Regions from separate parts of the Homo sapiens genome. Here regions 1, 2 and 3 are each linked to region 4. The links are contacts of gene promoters, found by promoter capture Hi-C in human tissues and cell types (Jung and others, 2019). All regions are on one chromosome and are shown on one strand. Each heading gives the region's core, a stretch centred on a gene start or on the middle of the fragment in contact. The rest is flanking DNA. Distances are from core to core; before and after follow the strand shown. Region 1 has its middle 6.1 kb from the start of MIB2. Region 2 holds the start of TNFRSF18 (TNF receptor superfamily member 18). Region 3 overlaps SSU72 (SSU72 homolog, RNA polymerase II CTD phosphatase). Region 4 holds the start of CCNL2 (cyclin L2).

Region 1 (3,674 bases), core at 750-3,249, 210 kb before region 4:
TCTGAAACACTGAGAGATCAAACATGTTGCTAAATATGTGGAAACAAGAGTCACATTTCTTAAATCCTCCTGTAAAACTCTCCACTCTAGCCCCTGGGTGCAGGCATTCCTAGGTGGAACCTCTCCATCTCTTGCTGTCAGCCCGAGGATGTGCTGCCTCCCTCTGTACATAAATTCCCCGAACAAATGCTTTGGGCCGATCACCCTGGCGTTTAGTGCTTCTTTTCTTTGGGACCAACCAGCCCCACCTCAGGATGGTTTGAGGCAGTCCCTTGTTGGAACTTGCCTGCTGCCACTTTTGGGGTGATTCTAGCTGTGGGCTGGAGGGATGAAACAGCAGCGTCGGCAGGATTCCAAAGAAATGGGCCGAGGGAACCAGAAGCAATGGGGAGACCCCCGGATGGCCACAAGATCCCTGCAGCCTGCTTGCTTCACGCCATCTCCTTGTACAGCAGCCTTAGGATTAAAACTCTCTTTCTGCTGCAACCCGTGGTGTTGGCGCAGTGACATTCCATGCATCAGGAAATGGGCCCGCTATGGCCACAACAGCAGAGAGATGACTCTCCAAAGAGTTTCTCCAGGAATGACGGGGAATTGCAGTTTGGGATATGCGTGCTATGGCAGACCACAGGCACATCCAGAGAGGCTGGGACAGGGGAAGCTTCTAAAAAAACAGAAAGGAGAAGCCCACCTAAGCTGCTTTGAAGCAAAGAGCATAGGTGACGGGGACTTTGTGTTAGTCCATTCTCACGGTCTTACGAAGAACTGCCTGAGACTGGGTAATTTATAAAGGAAAGAGGTTTACCTGACCCACAGTTCCACGTGGCTCAAGAAACTTAACAATCACAGCAGAAGGGGAAGTAAACACATCCTTCACCTGGCTGCAGGAGAGAAACCTGCTGAGCAAAGGGGAAAAGCTCCTTATAAAACTACCAGATGTCCTGAGAACTCACTGTCACGAGAACAGCATGGGGGTAACTGGCCCCATGATTCAATTACCTCCCACCAGGTCCCTCCCACAACACGTGGGGATTGTGGGAAATGCAAGATGAGATTTGGATGGGGACACAGCCAAACTGTATCAGGCTTGTTGCAGGAGTTGGCATTCATCTGGAGGTGAAGACGGCCCTTGTCAGGCAAGCGTCCTCGTGCAGGCAGCTTAGCGGCAGTACTGTGGTTTTGAGAAATTCCGTAGTTTCTTTCCTGGCACACCTGGGAGAGCCCGTCCTTCGTGGCCTCCTGGCTCCATTTTTCAGGGTTTGACATAAGTGACTCCATTTTGGTACTGGCCACTTTTGCACTGGAGATCCACAGATAATGTCTTCCAGGCTGAGGTCTGTCACTCCCACAGGTGCACGGCTGAGCTAACTGCCACGTGTGTGGCCTTAGGCCCCTCAGCAGCCAGGACAATATGTTTTTTCTTTTTTCTTTTCTTTTTTTTTTTTTGAGACAGAGTTTCCTTCTTGTTGCCCAGGTGGGATTGCAGTAGCGCAATCTTGTCTCACTACAACCTCCACCTCCTGGGTTCAAGTGATTCTCCCGCCTCAGCCTCCCGAGTAGTTGGGACTACAGGCGTGCATCACCACAACCAGCTAATTTTTGGATTTACTATTAATACAGATGGGGTTTCACCATGTTGGCCAGGCTGGTCTTGAACTCCTGACCTCAAGTGATCCACCTGCCTCGGCCTCCCTAAGTGCTGAGATTACAGACGTGAGCCACCGCACCTGGCCGGTACCTTTTTTTTTTTTTTTTTGAGACAGAGTCTCACTGTGTTGCCCAGGCTGGAGTGCAGTGGCACTATCTTGGCTCACTGCAACCTCCGCCTCCCAGGTTCAAGTGATTCTTCTGCCTCAGCCTCCAGAGTAACTGGGACTACAGACGCGTGCCAGCACGCCTGGCTAATTTTTGAGTTTTTGCAGTAGAGACGGGATTTCACCATGTTGGCCAGGCTGGTCTTGAACTCCTGACCTCAAGTGATACACCCACCTTGGCCTCCAATAGTGCTGGGATTACAGGCGTGAGCCACTGCGTCCGGCCGGTACCTACTTTTTTTTTTTTTTTTTTTTGAGACAGAGTCTCGCTCTGTCACTCAGGCTAGAGTGCAGTGGCACGATCTCGGCTCACTGTAAGCTCCGCCTCCTGGGTTCATGCCATTCTCCTGCCTCAGCCTCCTGAGTAGCTGGGACTACAGGCGCCCGCCACCACGCCCAGCTAATTTTTTTGTGTATTTTTTGTAGAGACGGGGTTTCACCATGTTAGCCAGGCTGGTCTTGATCTCCTGACCTCATGATCTGCCCGCCTCGGCCTCCCAAAGTCTTGGGATTACAGGCATGAGCCACCGTGCCCGGCCGCAGTTACCTACTTTTATAACATATTTGTGGACCAGATTTGGCCCCTGAATGAAAATCAAATGATTAAGGAAATCAATGACTATTTTCAGCAATATGGTAAGTCAGGTCACCTGCAAGATCTTCTCAATGAAACAATAAAAGATCTGTATAATGTGTTTTATTGGTATTATTATTATTATTTTTGAGACAGGGTCTCACTCTGTTGCCCAGGTTGGAGTACAGAGGCGCAATCATGGCTCACTGCAACCTTGACCTCCCGGGCTCAAGTGATTCTCCTTCCTCAGCCTCCTGAGTAGCTGGGATTACAGGCTCGTGCCACCACATCCAGCTAATTTTTTTTTGGTACATTTTGTAGAGACAGGGGTCTCGCTGTGCTGCCCAGACTAGTCTCCAACTCCTGACATCAAGCAATCTGCCTGCCTCAGCCTCCCAAAGTGCAGGAATTACAGGCATGAGCTGCCGCGCCCGGCCTATTTTTTAATTATTTTTTAGAGATGGGGATCTTGCTCTGTTCCCCAGGCTGGAGTGCAGGGGTGCAATCATAGCTCACTGCAGCCTCAAACTCCTAGGCTCAAGGGGTCCTCCCGCCTCAGCCTCCCAAGTAGTTGGGACTACGGGTGTGAGCCACTGTGCCTGGCAAACAATCTGTATAAAATATGGAAAGCACAGGAGGCTGAGGCAGGAGAATGACTTGAACCCGGAAGGCAGAGGTTGCAGTGAGCCAAGATTGCACCACTGCACTCCAGCCTGGGTGACAGAGCAAGACTCCATCTAAAAAAAAATACATATATATATAATTATATATATTATACATACATTATATATAATACATATTATATATATACATATATAATATATAGTACATATATTATATATATATATGGAAAGCATTGTTTAAAATCCATGACTGAGCTGACACACAGTAAGGAAGGGAAGAGCGGCCTTGAAACAGAAAACCTGGAGCACAGGAAGAGGAGGCCCGAGGGGAGTGCACGTCAGGCTTGGACTCATGGAGGGATCCGTATTCTCTCCCATCTCTCCATCTGGCAGGGCATCGACATTTTTGACTAACTGTGTGACCCGTGAGTGAATTCTGCATGTTGATGCATTCAGCATGCATTGTGGCTGTGCTTTGCAGAGGTGCCGGGGACACAGCAAGATGCCACAGGGAGCAGAGATGGGAAGCGATGCCAGCCACACGTGCTCAGGAAGGCCCAGGAGGCACTGGTGTGGACAGAGACAGAGACTCAGCTCTGCTTAAGAAGGAAATCAAGGCCGGGCACGGTGGCTCACGCCTGTAATCCCAGCACTTTGGGAGGC
Region 2 (3,283 bases), core at 67-2,566, 190 kb after region 4:
AACCCCTGACCTCAGGTGATCCGAGGCCCACCTCGGCCTCCCAAAATGCTGGGATTACGGGCGTGAGCCACTGATGGCGCCTCTTTCTATCCAGGGGCCCAGACCCCCTCCCAGCCTCGGGGCTGAAGATCTCCAGGCCTCTCAAAGGCCCCCAGGCCCAGCTGGCCCCACCCCTTTCCTTCCGAGCGTCGGGGCGGCCTGGAGCTGCAGAGACCCCTTCCTTCTCTGCAGTGTCTGAGGGCTGCCTCTCCAAGGCAGGCTCCTACATCTTGGATTTGAGAACTCCGGGGTGTCACAAACAGCTAATTCCTGTCATTTACCTTGGAAAAGGAGGAACCGCCTTACGGGGTGAGGCGGTGGCTGCAGGTCTCAAAAGGGTGTTGAACCACATCCACGCTCACGTTCCCGAGAGCCCCCACCCCCAGCATTCATGGGGGTCTCCACCTGTGCTGGACGGCGCAGAAGCAGGGCTGGGCAATCCAGGGAGGCTTCCTGGTGGAGGCAGGGTCCCAGAACCCCTCGGTGCCCACAGGGGAAACTGAGGCTCAGAAAGACATAGGACAGTCTCCCAAGAGCTCTGCGAGGGGCTCCTCCTCAACTCCCTCCGGGACCTGGATCTGTCTGGTGTGACGGATGAAGGTGGCTCTGAGAGACCGGGCCCTGGGTGCCCGCGGGGGCGGCTGACACTGTCCCGAGGAGGCGCCAGCACCCTCTCGTCTCCCCACCAGCTCCTCCTGGTGCCCCTCCCAAGCCCCGGGGAACTTCCCAGGTTGGCCTGAGGGGGGTCCTGGAGAGCTGCAAGCAAGGGGGAGGGGAGCCCACAGGCCTGCAGCCCATGGTGAGTTTCACACCTGAAGCCAGCCAGGTGGGGTGTGCTGAGCCGAGGGGTCCCTGTCCCCATTCTGTGGGGTTCCCCAGCACGGGGCTCCATGGTTGAGGCTCTCTGGGGGTGGCCAGAATTTGTGGAGACCTCTCGGGGACTCGCAGATACCACCCGGAGGCAGTGGGATGGAGGAGTGATTGGCTGACCCCCGCCCTCCAAGGGGCCCCCATGGGACAAGGTGCTATAAACGCCGCCCCCTGCACTGGGGACACCAATGTGGCCGCAGACTTTGCATAGAAAACCTTTCTGATCCCCGCCAGCCTGGTTTCCCCGCCCCTGCCGGCGACCTGCGGGGGACCGGGCTGTGTCCGCAGTGTCTACACCCCCTCCTCACACGCACTTCACCTGGGTCGGGATTCTCAGGTCATGAACGGTCCCAGCCACCTCCGGGCAGGGCGGGTGAGGACGGGGACGGGGCGTGTCCAACTGGCTGTGGGCTCTTGAAACCCGAGCATGGCACAGCACGGGGCGATGGGCGCGTTTCGGGCCCTGTGCGGCCTGGCGCTGCTGTGCGCGCTCAGCCTGGGTCAGCGCCCCACCGGGGGTCCCGGGTGCGGCCCTGGGCGCCTCCTGCTTGGGACGGGAACGGACGCGCGCTGCTGCCGGGTTCACACGACGCGCTGCTGCCGCGATTACCCGGGTAAGTAAACCGCGTTTACTTAACGCGGACCGGCCAAGGCGTCCCGCGGAAGCCGGGATGGGTGGGCGCCCCCCTTCCCGTGCTCAGACCGGCGTTGCTGAGGTCTAAGGAGGGTGGGCACAGAGCCGCCAGCAGCGGGAGCCTTCCGGAGGGAGGCAGGATCCCAGAGGGAGGCGGAGGTGTGCCAGCTCCAGCCAGTGGCCCCGGCCGGGAGCAGGGGTGAGCCAGGTGGGAGCGCCCTCAAGAGGGGTCTGGGGTCTGGAGGTGGAGGACGGCTGTTCCAGGTCCTGCTGGGCGGGTCGTGAGCCCTTGGCCATCGCCCAGCCCCCTCCTGCCCAGTTGAGGGCCCCCCTGCACCACCGTCTGGCCTGCTGCCTGCCTCTGACCTGCACCTGGGGATGAGGGTTCAGCTGACACGGCTGGTCTGGAGAGGAAGCTGGCAGGGAAGTCACCCCAGAGCTTCTTCCTCCAGGGCCTGTGGGTTGGGAAGGGAGGCTCTGTCCGGAGGCCCAGTGTGGCTGGTGGTGGGGACAGCAGCGCCCAGACACCAGGCAGGCGGCCTCTGAGGTGTCGACGGGCCTCCAGGGGACTGTGCACTGTTGGGGGCCACCCCTGGGTCCTGCAGGGGCAGCTCCTGGTTGCATATGGAGTTAGCACCTGGGCAGGGGCAGCTGTGGGGCGCAAAGGGGGAGTAGCCAGGCCACATGGCCCCAGGAGAAAGAGACAGCTGGATAAACCCAGGGTCCAGACTCCCAGCCAGGAGCCCTCTGCTCCCTGGAGCCAACTGTGGGTGGAGAACGGACAACCTCACTCCCCTGGAGGGCCGAGGGGAGGCCTGGGGAGGAGGGGGCCTCAGCCCAGCTGCTGGGGGGCTGGCCTGTCTCCTGCCCAGGCGAGGAGTGCTGTTCCGAGTGGGACTGCATGTGTGTCCAGCCTGAATTCCACTGCGGAGACCCTTGCTGCACGACCTGCCGGCACCACCCTTGTCCCCCAGGCCAGGGGGTACAGTCCCAGGGTAAGTCCTGGAGGTGCCTCTGGGAGTCCACACAGGCCAGGGGTTCCACTAGGGCCCGAGGCAGAGCTCGTGGGCACAGGTGTCCGGCGAGGACATGTGGTGTGTGGGGTCCGGAGTCCTGTGAGGCCGGGCAGGCCAGGCCATGCTCAGGCACCACAGGCCATGAAGCTCTGGGGGTGTCCTGTCCCTGCTTTCTCAGCCTGGGCTTCTCCATCCAGCACGAGGGCTGTGAGAACCCTGCGGGGAGGTGGGGGCGGGTTCCAGGAGCTGTCTGGCTCTCAGGCCCGGGACACCCATCCTGTCTGTCCTCACCACATACTGAAAGAGCCTGCCCTGTGCCCCCCGGAGTCCTGTCTGGGGCCTGGGGCTGCACCCTGTTCTGGAAGGAGCAGCTCAAGTCCTCTTAGCGGCTTGTTTACCTGACAGGAGAGGTCAGGCTGGGCACATGAGAGCTGGGAGAAGGTACAACTGGGGAGGTTGTGTCAGGTTGGACGGGGCAGGGTCTGGGGTCAACTGGGACCCAGCCTCACTCTCTCTGGGACCCTCACTGTTCTCCACCCTCTGTTCTACTGGGTCCTGCCTGGCTTCTGCCCACCCTCAGCCCCCAATGGGCAGGCCTTTCCCCTCCCTGGCAGGCCCACTGCACTCTGCGCACCTCCCCCAGGTGCCCTCACTGGGCCCCACCCCAGACGCCCCACCTGGGACGGGCAGACATGGGCCCCAGTCCTGGGCCATGAAGAACTCT
Region 3 (3,352 bases), core at 25-2,524, 160 kb before region 4:
ACTGCAAGCTCCGCCTCCCGGGTTCACGCCATTCTCCTGCCTCAGCCTCCCGAGTAGCTGGGACTACAGGTGCCCGCCACCGCGCCCGGCTAATTTTTTGTATTTTTAGTAGAGACGGGTTTTCACCGTGTTAGCCAGGATGGTCTTGATCTCCTGCCTTCATGATCCGCCTGCCTTCATGATCCGCCTGCCTTCATGATCCGCCTGCCTTGGCCTCCCAAAGTGCTGGGATTACAGGCGCGAGCCACCATGCCCGGCCTAGATTAAAAATTTGAAGACATATTCTCTACTATGAGCCAATGAAATTACTCATTTTGTTTCTATCCCATTTGCTGTCCCTTGCTTTTGGAATTTTGTGTCTTAGTGTGACTGTGATTCTTTCTCTCCTTTTGTCTTTCAGCAAACGGGGATTCAGCGTCCGATCCTTTGGAACAGGGACTCACGTGAAGCTTCCAGGACCAGCTCCCGACAAGCCCAATGTTTATGATTTCAAAACCACATATGACCAGATGTACAATGATCTTCTTAGGAAAGACAAAGAACTGTATCCCAGCGGGTTGCCCTTTAAAAACCCCCCGTGTGGTCCTCCCTGGAAGGTGTTACGTGTGGCTCGGGCACAGGAGGCGTGTCACCCTGTGCAGTGCACACACTGGCTCCTCTGTCTTTGCGAGAGCTTGGTTTCTATTCCTGGTGCACGTCGGATCGTCCACGGGTTAGTTCCAGTGCCACCCATGGCAGTAGGCGTGGTGAGGCGCACAGACACGGTGTGGGGTTCACCCTGACGTGGTTCAGCAGAGGGTCGTGACATAGCGTAGACCAGGGATGCTTAGGTGAGGAGGTGGAACCCACAAAATCCCATTGCTTTTCACACTGCAGGGCTGCCCCGTTATTTCCTTTGCAGGTTGGTGTGCGTGCGTGTGTGCGTGCGTGCCTGATACACATGGAGCCGGGCTGCTTCACACATCTGGTGAGGTCGTTAGAAGGTCAGATAAAGAAGAGGGCGGAGCTTGCTAACCAAGCTGTTAGAAGAAATAATGGGAGAGAACATTCCTTCATTTCAGGAGGACACAGAGCAGGCTAGGTCTGCCGCGAAGACTCCTATAGAGAGAAGAGTATTCTTAAACTAGATTCTGATGGACGCAACACCAGTTGCATAATGGTTATGACAATCAGTGCCCGGGTTTTTGACCAGGCATTTCATGGTCACCCCCACGCTAATGGAAAGTTTCTGGATCTTATTTTGTTATAGTGAGTGATTTGTAGTTTTCAGAACGGAGGCCAGGCCAAACGTATTCCAAATGAAAAGAGAATAGGTGTCAAATGCTAAACCTTTTATCTTCGTGTTGGCACTGTTGCCATCCCCGCCCTCTCCCGACATCCCCGCCCTTGACCAGCATCTCTGGCCTTGCCCAGCATTGTCTATGTATTGGCACTCTTGCCATCCCCGCCCTTTCCCAGCAGAGTCTCACTGTGTCACCCCGGCTGGAGTGCAGTGGCGAGATCTTGGCTCACTGCAGACTCACTGCAACATCCACCTCCCGGGTTCCAGTGATTCTCCTGCTTCAGCCTCCTGGGTAGCTGGGATTACAGGCACGCGCCACCACACCTGGCTAATTTTTGTATTTTTAGTAGTCACAGGGTTTCACCATGTTGGCCAGGCTGGTCTTAAACTCCTGACTTCAGGTGATCCACCCTCCTCGTCCTCCCAAAGTGCTGGGATTACAGGCGTGAGCCACCATGCTCAGCCCTACTCTTGTATTTTTTTTTTTTTTTTTTTTTGAGATGGAGTCAGAGTCTCACCCTGTTGCCCAAGGTGGAGTGTAGCGGCTTGATCTCAGCTCACTGCAACCTCCCCCTCCCAAGTTCAAGCGATTCTCTGCCTCAGCCTCCCGAATAGCTGGGATTACAGGCATCCGCTGTCATGCCTGGCTAATTTTTGTATTTTTAGTAGAGACGGGGGTTTCACCATCTTGACCAAACTGGTCTTGAACTCTTGACCTCGTGATCCAGCTGCCTCGGCCTCTCAGAGTGTTGGGATTACAGGCGTGAGCCACCATGCCTGGCCTCTTGGAATATTTAATAAGCTAAAAAATTCTTATACACAGGTAGATTAATTAGGTAGCCAGGAGTGGCCCCTGAAAGTATGTCTGGCAAAACCTAGAACTGCATCCTAGCCATCACTGTACCTTCTGCCCTCCCTGCTGTCTCCTCTGCCAGTTACAGTTAAAAGGTTGTGGGTGAGGACGCTGGGCAGAGTCCCAGGCGTCTGCTGTCAGCTCCCCAGCCCGGCCTGCCTGCCGAGCCATCTGGGCGTCCCACGGTGGAGAGTGTGGTGCTTGTGACGCGGTGGTGCTGGGAGCCATCCTGGTGGCAGATGTGGGCTCTCACTGCAAGTCAGTGTAAGTCCCCAGGGACTGTCAGCAGCACGTCCTGCTGCCCCTCTCTCTGCAGAAGCCCTGGTAACCTGCGTTTGGAAAAATCTCTAAGGATTTCTGAGGAGCTGTCAGGCCATGTCCTTGTCCACCCTGTGTGGGGCACGGCTTCGACATGGCTCTGCTCCCGTCGTGGGCTGAGAAGGAGCAGGTGGGGCTGTGCCTTGGAAAGGAGGCCCTCCCGACATGCCTTTGTGCGAGGTCCCTGTCCATGCTGTCTCCATCCCGGAGCCTTACGGCGATGGGTGGCCACAGAGCCTATTCCAAGAGTCTGGTTTAGGGCTGGGTCTTCCCATCTTCACCTCTGAGTCTTAGGCGATGCGTGACCACGCAGCCCCTTCCAGGAGTCTGGTTTAGGGCTGGGTCTTCCCATCTTCACCTCTGAGTCTTAGGCGGTGCATGACCACGCAGCCCCTTCCCGGAGTCTGGTTTAGGGCTGCGTGCTCAAGAGTCTGGTTTGGGGCTGGGTCTTCCCATCGCCCTGGAGGAGGCTTTTGTCTCATCTCATGATTCACATTAAACTCTGTGCCATGAAGCTTAGCCTGACATCCTGTTTTTGACAATTACTCTTCAGTTAGCACTGTTTATTTTTAAGTTCTTGTATATTCAGTAAGAGAAAGAAAAGCAGAGAGTGACGCACATCCTCACACTCCCTTGATTGGTGTAAGCTCAGCCCCTTCATGTCAGCCCACTGTGACCTCCTGGGTTCCAGACCTGGGAAGTACTTGCCACGTTCTGCAAGGACTGAGTCCAGCTTCAGCAGTCTCATCCGGAAGGACTTGGTATAGGCAGAGGATGAGCCTGTCTCTGGTCATTCTAAAAGAAGGAGCTGAGCCCAGTGTCCCAGAATTCGGAAGCTCCTCCTTTACAGAGGGACTGTAGGGGTTGGTGATCTCCCAGGAAGCATCGGCCCAGAAGAA
Region 4 (3,158 bases), core at 633-3,132:
GGCCGACCACTCCATCCTCACTGCAGGCCTTCATTCCTTCTGGCTTCCATCACTGCATGGCCCCCTAAGAGGTCCCCCTCCTGGCCCTTGTCACTGTGCCTCATGACAGCCACTACGCCCTAAGCCTTTGGAGGCCAGGGACAAAGTCTCGTTCACTGTCCTTTCCGCTGCATGAGTGCAGTGTCTGGCCAGGTGCACGGGGCACTCAGTGCCTGTCAGCCCTTGGTAAACAGTCCTGGACAACAGGGTCAAGGACAGAGCCCTGGGCGGCCACATTCGGTGCGTGCTCCTGTGTTGTGGCAAAGCTGCCTTTTCTGCGTTTCATGTCAGTGAAGGAAGACAGGGATGTGGCAGAGCCCTGCGGGTTGCTCCCATCACTCACTCGGTTTGTGCCATAGTCCTCCTGTTCCCAGGCGGTCCCAGGGCCTGCCCCTGATGGGCTGGAGGCACCACCAACCTCCCACTCCTCTGGCAGTCACAGCTCAGGGAATGGGCAAGCAGCACCAATGAGAAACCAGCTGTGTGGTGGGGTTTCCAGAGAAGAGGAAATTCCTTCTTTCCTGGAGAGCGTGCAGCTGTAACTCACAGACGAGACATCCCTGAGCTACCAGCCTGGGGAAAGAGGACATGAGTAAAGCTGTAACCATACCGTGTTACCCATAACAGGCGGTGAGGAGAGTGGGTTTTGGTTGGCACTGTTTGAGCTGCAGTATCAAGTCATGGCAGAGCTAGTGGACAGCTGACCTGGGGGTGGGGGTGAGGAGCAATGGTGGCTTCTGAATTTGAGCCCGTCTGAGCTGGGCAGTTACTGGCAGCTCAGTGTGTGAACCTGCAACCACTCAGGCCTCTGCTGCCCTTCCCTCTTCCTGCCTCACCGTTCCCTGCCCCACGCAGGCTTCCCCACCATCCTCACCCGTGGTCCTGTACTAGTCCTGGCAAAGGTTCCGGTAACTGCAGCAACAGATACCTCCTGCCCCTCCTGCACAGCTGTGGTCGATCGCAGGACAGCCGCAGGTGATGAAAAACCGTGAACCCAGGACGGGCAGGGCGTGAGACCGCCTGCGGGAGGATCAGCGATGTCAAGACGTTACAAACGCACGAACCCCCTCGCCGTCTCCCTGGCGTTTGTGAGGTCCTGTCCAAGCTCCTTCACACGTAGATCACCGGGCCTCGCTCCCCCGACTCCTTCCGTGGGCCTGAACCTTGAGGTACTTAGGCCTCCCCACGCTGGAGGGGCTCTGTAGGGACGTCGAGGCCACGTTTCCAGTCATCCCTCCACCCGTCTCTCCCCAGGGGCTGAGTGTTGAAGGCAAGACTTTGCAGGAGTCTGGCGTTAATACGCATCCCCAAAGTCTGGAGTCGATAAGGACTGAAGACACGACGCCGACGGCGGCCGGGGGACACCGGGCATGCGCGTCTCATCCAGGGGGAGGCCGAGCGGAGCCTCTGACCCTGCCCCGCGCCCAGGGTTCAGCAGTGGGGGTCGTCCCGCCCCAGATCCCACCGAGATGGCCCCCCTTGACCCACAGGCCTTTCGAGACGCGAGCTTCCGCGATCCGGGGTCTCTGTGCGAACGTGGGCATCTTGGAAGAGTCCCAGCCCCGCTCGGGGCGCACAGGCAGGCGCTCTCAGCACGGCACCCGCGCCTCCGCTAGGGACAGACATGCTTCCGGGTCGGCCGGCACCGCGGAGTCCCCTGGGTAACGAGCCCGCCCCACCCGCGCCAGGTTCCGGCGTCGGCGTTAGGCGCGTTGCTGACGGGCAGGTTATGTAGCCAATTGCGGCTAGGCGGCGTCGCGCTGGTCGCGGGCCGAACCAATGGCACGCGACGGGGCGGGGCGGTGGCGGCCGTGGAGCTTCGCGAGGAGCCGCCCTGAGGGAAGAAGCCGAAGGGGAGTCGGCGGCACAAAATGGCGGCGGCGGCGGCGGCGGCTGGTGCTGCAGGGTCGGCAGCTCCCGCGGCAGCGGCCGGCGCCCCGGGATCTGGGGGCGCACCCTCAGGGTCGCAGGGGGTGCTGATCGGGGACAGGCTGTACTCCGGGGTGCTCATCACCTTGGAGAACTGCCTCCTGCCTGACGACAAGCTCCGTTTCACGCCGTCCATGTCGAGCGGCCTCGACACCGACACAGAGACCGACCTCCGCGTGGTGGGCTGCGAGCTCATCCAGGCGGCCGGTATCCTGCTCCGCCTGCCGCAGGTGAGGGCGCGGCCGCGAGCCTCCGGCCCAGGTAACCGCTGGGGCGGCAGCCGCCTTTGTTGGCGGCGAGTCGGGCCCGCACCGCCCCCGCCTAGACCCCGACCCCAGCCCCTGCCCCGACCCCAGCCTCGGCGCCATTCCCTAGCCAGCCCATGCCCCTGACCCGGGGCCTCCCCGCCCGCCAGTGCGCTGGATCCCGAGACGGCGGGACGCGAAGAGCCTTTGTGGACGTGGGAAGCGTTTCAGTGTTTGGTTCTGCGTGGGGAGTCCCACGTTACTCGATGACTTTCGGCCGCGAAGGCTTTGAATGGTGCGTTTGAAAATACGGAAACTTTCTTCTACTCTAGGTGGCCATGGCTACCGGGCAGGTGTTGTTCCAGCGGTTCTTTTATACCAAGTCCTTCGTGAAGCACTCCATGGAGGTAAGGCTTCCTCCTGCACTTCATTCCCAGCGAAGTATGTTGAGGGTAAAACGGTTTGTTACTTTGCCCGGTTACTAAGGGAGTGAGTACTTGCCCCCCAGTCTGAGCTCTGTGCCGGAGGGTTCTGTTTCTTGACTTTTTTTTTCCCCTGGGTGCACCTCCCTTTTGGTCTGAATAGCCCTCAAGCCTTTGGCGGCCGTCAGGACGCCGTGGCTGGGGACAAACATGGGCGTGTTGCAATGCTTCCGCTTCAGCATGTGTCAATGGCCTGTGTCCACCTGGCTTCCAAGATAGAAGAGGCCCCAAGACGCATACGGGACGTCATCAATGTGTTTCACCGCCTTCGACAGCTGAGAGACAAAAAGTGAGTCAGTCAGAGCTGTCTAGTCTATCATAGATGCCTATTTTCTTTATTTCTGATTAAGTTACAGTAAGGCTTGTATAACACAATACAGGCCTGAGGCTCTAAACCTGTGGGATATTCATGAGCGCAGTCTCAAGCTCCACCAACAGAGCCTGCTCAGAGGCATCAGTAGAT

Evidence for each region. The method cuts DNA at HindIII sites, captures the fragments that hold promoters and counts their contacts. A contact is called where the count stands out against the background at its distance.
Region 1: a fragment that was not itself captured here is called in contact with the fragment with the promoter of CCNL2 in region 4 in 2 of the 25 tissues and cell types used here (bladder and dorsolateral prefrontal cortex).
Region 2: the fragment with the promoter of TNFRSF18 here is called in contact with the fragment with the promoter of CCNL2 in region 4 in 1 of the 25 tissues and cell types used here (small bowel).
Region 3: a fragment that was not itself captured here is called in contact with the fragment with the promoter of CCNL2 in region 4 in 3 of the 25 tissues and cell types used here (dorsolateral prefrontal cortex, lymphoblastoid cells and mesenchymal stem cells).

Annotation. Positions count from the first base shown.
Region 1 is chr1:1,607,592-1,611,265 of GRCh38, reverse strand. No RefSeq gene overlaps it. Among named protein-coding and RNA genes, the nearest start is that of MIB2, 6.1 kb to the left of the region's middle. The HindIII fragment of the contact is 9,421 bases long and covers 1-3,674 here.
Region 2 is chr1:1,204,625-1,207,907 of GRCh38, reverse strand. It overlaps TNFRSF18 (TNF receptor superfamily member 18), which reads left to right and starts at 1,316. Exons shown (of 5, transcript NM_004195.3): 1 at 1,316-1,523; 2 at 2,416-2,538. The coding sequence starts at 1,337. RefSeq lists a silencer at 2,533-2,733. The HindIII fragment of the contact is 29,019 bases long and covers 1-3,283 here.
Region 3 is chr1:1,561,965-1,565,316 of GRCh38, reverse strand. It overlaps SSU72 (SSU72 homolog, RNA polymerase II CTD phosphatase), which reads left to right. Exons shown (of 5, transcript NM_014188.3): 2 at 401-544. Among named protein-coding and RNA genes, the nearest start is that of SSU72, 11 kb to the left of the region's middle. The HindIII fragment of the contact is 6,810 bases long and covers 1-3,352 here.
Region 4 is chr1:1,398,059-1,401,216 of GRCh38, reverse strand. CCNL2 (cyclin L2) reads left to right here and starts at 1,882. Exons shown (of 11, transcript NM_030937.6): 1 at 1,882-2,198; 2 at 2,546-2,620; 3 at 2,875-2,984. The coding sequence starts at 1,911. MRPL20-AS1 (MRPL20 antisense RNA 1) reads right to left here and starts at 1,687. Exons shown (of 3, transcript NR_015434.1): 1 at 1,528-1,687; 2 at 914-1,059; 3 at 1-612. RefSeq lists an enhancer at 401-944 and silencers at 1,330-1,389, 1,680-1,919, 1,990-2,169. The HindIII fragment of the contact is 25,727 bases long and covers 1-3,158 here.